Regions from separate parts of the Homo sapiens genome. Here region 1 is linked to region 2. Evidence: promoter capture Hi-C in 16 types of primary human blood cells and fetal thymus (Javierre and others, 2016). All regions are on one chromosome and are shown on one strand. Each heading gives the region's core, a stretch centred on a gene start or on the middle of the fragment in contact. The rest is flanking DNA. Distances are from core to core; before and after follow the strand shown. Region 1 has its middle 10 kb from the start of LINC00207. Region 2 holds the start of SHISAL1 (shisa like 1).

Region 1 (2,765 bases), core at 109-2,608, 250 kb before region 2:
TAATCTGAGGTCACTTCCTCACACGCATGTGCTGATCAGTACTCAGCTAAAGAATGGAGGGTAACCCCTCAGGGTTATAGATGTAGGTATAGTCAGTTGTTTGGGTACCATTTGTTAAAAAGTTTTTTCTTTTCCTTAACTTGCTTTAGCACCTAAGGTAAAAAGAAATCAATTGACCGTATAAACATGAGTTTCCTTCTGGCCTCTATTCTGTTCTAGTGCTTTTATTTGTCTATGTTTATGCCATTATTGTACTGTCTTCACTATCATAACTTTATAGCAAGTCTTGAAATTATGTCGTAAAAGTCCTCCAAACTTATTTTTCTTTTTGAACTTTTTTTTTTGGCTATTCAATGTTTTCCAATTTCTGCATACGTTTTGGAATCAACTGTGATGCTTGTAAGATTCCAGAGGCCCTCACAGAAGCTAAGCAGATGTTGAAGCCGTGGTTGTACAGTCTGCAGAACCATGAGCCAATTAATTATCTTTTCTTTATGAATTATTCAGTCTCATGTATTTCTTTATAGCAATGCATGAGTGGTCTAACACAGAAACTGTACTGAGGAGTGGGTCTCAGGTGAGACTTTAGACCAGATGTGGGGCTTTTGAGTTAATGGTGGAATAAGTTAAGATTTCAGGGGACTATTGGGAAGGTATGATTGTATTTTGCAATGTGAGAAGGACATGAGATTTGGGGGCGCCAGGGGCAGAATGATGTAGTTTGGATATTTGTCCCCACTCAAATCTCACGTTGATTACCTTCAATGTTGCAGGTGGGGCCTGATGGGAGGTGATTGGATCATGGGGGTGGATCCCTTATGGCTTGGTGCTGTTCTCCGCGTAGTGAGTGCGTACTCATGAGACCTGCTTGTTTAAAAGTGTGTGTCGCGGCCTGGCGTGGTGGCTCACGCCTGTAATCCCAGCACTTTGGGAGGCCGAGGCGGGTGAATCACGAGGTCAAGAGTTCGAGATCAGCTTGGCCAATATGGTGAAACCCTGTCTCTACTAAAAAAAAAATACAAAAATTAGCTGGGCATGGTGGCACGTGCCCGTAGTCCCAGCTACTCGGGAGGCTGGGGCAGAAGAATCGCTTGGACCCATGAGGCGGAGGTTGCAGTGAGCAAAGATCGTGCCACTGCACTCCAGCCTGGGCAACAGAGTGAGACTCCATCTCCAAAAAAAAAAAATTAAAAAAAAAAAAAAAAAGGAAAAGTGTGCGTTGCTGCTCCCCCATCTCCTTTGCTCTGCTCTTGCCATGTGAGGTGCCTGCCTCTCCTTCACCTTCTGCTATGACTGCAAAGTTCCAGAGGTCCTTGACGGAAGCCAAGCAGATGTTGGTGCCATGCAGAATTGTGAGCCAATTCAACTTCTTTTCTTTATTTTTAAAAAAGAATCAACTTTTAACTTTAAAAATGACTGCTAGGGCTGGGCGCGGTGGCTGACACCTGTAATCTCAGCACTTTGGGAGGCCGAGGTGGGTGGATCACTTGAGGTCAGGAGTTCAAGACCAGCCTGAGCAATATGGTGAAACCCCGTCTCTACCAAAAATACAAAAAAATTAGCTGGGCGTGGTGGTGCGTGCCTGTAGTCCCAGTGACTCACAAGGCTGAGGCAGGAGGATTGCTTAAGCCCGGGAGACAGAGGTTGCAGTGAGCTGAGACTGTGCCACTGCCCTCCAGCTTGGGTGACAGAGTGAGACTGTCTGAAACAAAACAAAACAAAAAAAACAAATCAAAACAAAAAAAATGACTACTGAGATTAAATTATTTAAAAAACATTATCATTGAGCTATAATTGACATATAATAGATGACACACATTTAAAGTACACAGTTTAGTAAGTTATGAAGCGTGTGTTCATGTGTGGGCCATCGTCACAATCAAGACAATGGACATGAGCCTCAGCCCCAGGAGTTTTCCTCTGACTCTTCTGTTTCCTTAATGCCCAACCCACCCTGGCCCCTAGGCAATCACCGATTTGCTTTTTGCCACTATAGATTGGTTTGTCGAGATTTTGATTGGGATTGCATTGAATCATTAGATAAATTTGGGGCAAATTGCTATCTTATAAATATTGAATCTTCCAGTCAATGATCATGGTATCTCTCCCCGTTTGCTTATTTCGTCTTTATTTTATCTCAGTACACATTACTATTATTATTATTATTATCATTAGAGATGGAGCCTGGCTCCCAGGCTGGAGTGCAGTGGCATGATCTCTGCTCACTGCAGCCTCCACCTCCCGGGTTTCAGCTATTCTCCTACCTCAGCCTCCTGGGTAGCTGGGATTACAGGCACCCACCACCACACCTGGCTAATTTTTGTATTTTTTTATTAGTAGAGACAGGGTTTCATCATGTCGGCCAGGCTGGTCTCAAACTCCTGACCTCAGGTGATCCTCCCGCCTCGCCTCCCAAAGTATTAGTATTAGAGGCATGAGCCACTGTGCCTGGCCTGTACACATTATTTTATAGCCTTTAGTGTAGAGGCTTTACATGTATTTTATTAAATGTATTCCTAAGTATTTGATGTTTTTTATGGTATTGCAAAGGTATCACTTTTAATATCAGTCATTACAGTGTATAGAAATGTGTCTTTCTCTATTGCCTTTTTATCCTGTGACCTTGTTAAATTTGCTTTCTAGTAAAGCAGTTAAAAGATCCCTTAGCATTTCCAACATATATAATATTATCTGTGAATAAAGACAGGTCTATCTCTTTCTTTCCATTTGTAAGCTTAAACATTTTTTTTCCTGCTGAGTTTCCC
Region 2 (2,762 bases), core at 258-2,757:
GTGTTCCAGATCTGGTGCACAGGAGGTCTGCTTTGAACTATAACAAAATCCACAGGGCAGTCCAGGCTCAGAGAGACAGAGAAACATGCCCAGGATCACACAGCTGAGAAGCGGCAAGGGACTTGAACCCGTGTTCAAACCCCAAGCTCAGAGCCCTTTTGTTTCTCTGCTGCTATGCTGAGCCCCAGACAAGAGGCAGGAGGAACTTTGTGTGCCTTGTTCCCTCTGCCAGGAACACTCCCCCACCCCCACCCCCGCCCCACCGCCCGACTCATCCTTCAGGTGTCCACACCAGACCCCCTGGTCTGAGTCCCCAGCCAGGCGACCCAGGACGAGTTACTGAAACTCTGTACCTCAGTTTCCGCATCTGTAAATTGGGGATAATCACAGCCCCTCCTAATCATGAAGATTAAATAAATACCACCCCCACTCCCGGCCCCTACCCCGTCAGGCTGCATCAGGCACTCTGGGCGCCCATAGCCCCCTGGTTTCCCATCGTGGCACCCATCGCTCTGGGCTGCCATTGTTGGGACCGTGGTTAGATGAGGGGCACCCAGACCAGTCTGAACTCGCTCTCTGTCCACCGAAAGGAATGGAAAAAGGAGGTTTATTTCTGGCCTGGCTCAGGATGGGCAGGCTTCCAGGGATGGGTGGGAGGCAGAGGAGGGCTGGCCTCCTTTATGGCTGCGTTTAAATGCCACCCAGAAGCCAGCCAAGGGCGCCGCCAAGGTACCACGATGCACGAAGGCCCAGGGGTGGGAGACGGCCATGGGCTGGGGGGGTGCCTGGCACCCAGGAAGTGTGGCTGCAGAGGCCAGCCAGGCCCCTGGGCTGTGTCCAGACAGTCATGGAAGCCACTGATGTGTTTCGAACAGTGGCAGGTGTGGGCATCCCCCGCCCTGTTCCTGCCCCATCCCCACCCCATTCCTACTGGCAGGGAGGACCCTCTGCTGCTGGGTGGGGACAGGCCAGGGGTAGGGGGGCAACAGCAGGAAGATCAGCCCAGCTTGGAGTCAGGCAGGTGCCACACACCCTCTGTGGGCTCTCGGGTCCCAGCTACCCTTCCTCCCCGGGCTGGTGTGGGGACCGTTTGTTTTACCCACACCCCTCCCCGGGCCATGCTGGCCAGAGGGGCTTGTGCAGTGGTGCCACTGACCTCCATTGCCCAACAGAGACTGAGGGCCACGGGAGGGAACCCACATGTATTGTGCCAAGCATCTGCTGAGGTGCGGACCTGGAGCCCGGTGCCCTGGGTCTAAGCCCCTGCTGCTTCTAGCTGTGGGATCTCACAGGGAGTGTCTCTAGTTTGCTCACCTGTAAAATGGGGCTCTTGCTGGTGCTCTGAGGATGCACAAGGCTGTAAGACCAGAGGCTGGAGTGCGTGGGGACTGCGGGAGCAGCCGCTGCCATCCTGGGCCTGGGAGGTGGCGGCCCTAGGCCCAGGCGGGAGCTGGACTCCTGCAGGGCTGACTCAGCGCCCTAGCCCCACTCCCCGCCCTGAGGAGCACACTGAATTCTTGTCAGCACACAGAGGCCAGCCTGCGCTGGAAAACACTCTTTTGCCTATACAAGGCTCGACCAAGTTGCTCTCCTTTTATTGGGGTTTAAGGTTGGTGGCAACCAGGAGCCGGGGAAGAGGCCAGCAGCTGCAGGGAGACCGCAGCCAGCGGAGGGGGCTTCTGATCCCTCAGTCACAGGGCTCGGCAGGTAAGGAGCAGCCTGTGGAGGTTTCCAGGTCCTCACTGTGCAGGGGCACCTCTGTTCCTTCACGCTGACCCTGGGGTCCCTGCCCTGGCTAAGCACTGGGTCTAAGGGAGAAGCCAGGCAAGGCTGCTAAGTGACTCCTAGTCACAGAAGAATGGGAGGGGCCGGGGTGACGGCTATGCCAGTGGGGCAAGATGGGGAGCAGGCTCTGATCTAGAGGGGTGGGAGCCCTGTGGGGGTGCACAGATGCTGGTGCTACTACCTACCTGCTGTGTGACCTTGAGCAAGTTGCTGACCGTCTCTGTGCCTCAGTGTCCTTGTGTCAAGAGCCTTGCATAGAGAGGGGTTGGAGAGAAGGCCAAAGGCTCGGGGGAGGGTCCGGCATGGCCTAGGGAGTGCTCTCAGGATGCCCTAGTCATGGCCTGGAGGGCATTTGGTTGGCTTCACGGGGGTGAGGTGGGTCTGTTCGACCCACTTCAGAGTCTGCAGTCCCAGTCCAGCATCACACCGGTACGAAATAAGTGAATAGATGAATGAATGAATGAATGAACGAACAAATGAATGCATTGGCCCCTCCGAATACGCCTTCAAGGCAGGTTTGTTGTCCCCATTTACAGATTGGGAAACTGAGGCTTAGGGCTTTGGCTTCTCTTCACTCCAGTGAGGAAGGGGTTCTGGGGACCAGGGAGGCTGAGGGAGCTGAAGAGAAACCCAGAGCCACCCCCACCCCGAGGCGAGCGCCATGCCTGTCTTTCCTCTTCCTGCCCTGACACTTTAAGTGATTCATTCTTCATGTGATATTTTTGTGTTTCTCCAGTGGGAAAAAAATGCCTCTGGGATTTCCAGGGGTTGTTTTATCTCCATGGTGCAACCAAATAACTCAGGAGGACAGAGAGAAACAAAGGGTTGTTGAGCTGAAGAAGGCCCATGATTGTCTCGGCCAAGCTCTCCCTTTAATAGGGGAGGAAACTGAGTCTGGCCTGAGCCCCTCGCCCTGTGACCCAGTGTGGCCCCCTGGAGGACAGTGGGGCATCTAGGGCCTTCAGCAGGGTTGGGGT

What was found. The method cuts DNA at HindIII sites, captures the fragments that hold promoters and counts their contacts. A CHiCAGO score of 5 or more calls a contact.
Region 1: a contact is called between a fragment that was not itself captured here and the fragment with the promoter of SHISAL1 in region 2, in 7 of 17 cell types (total CD8 T cells, naive CD8 T cells, M1 macrophages and 4 more). The highest score is 8.2, in total CD8 T cells.

Annotation. Positions count from the first base shown.
Region 1 is chr22:44,557,707-44,560,471 of GRCh38, reverse strand. No RefSeq gene overlaps it. Among named protein-coding and RNA genes, the nearest start is that of LINC00207, 10 kb to the left of the region's middle. The HindIII fragment of the contact is 2,757 bases long and covers 1-2,736 here.
Region 2 is chr22:44,311,696-44,314,457 of GRCh38, reverse strand. SHISAL1 (shisa like 1) reads left to right here and starts at 1,507. Exons shown (of 5, transcript NM_001099294.2): 1 at 1,507-1,707. LOC101927499 (a long non-coding RNA gene) reads right to left here and starts at 1,447. Exons shown (of 2, transcript XR_244444.3): 1 at 1,315-1,447; 2 at 1-37. The HindIII fragment of the contact is 15,394 bases long and covers 1-2,762 here.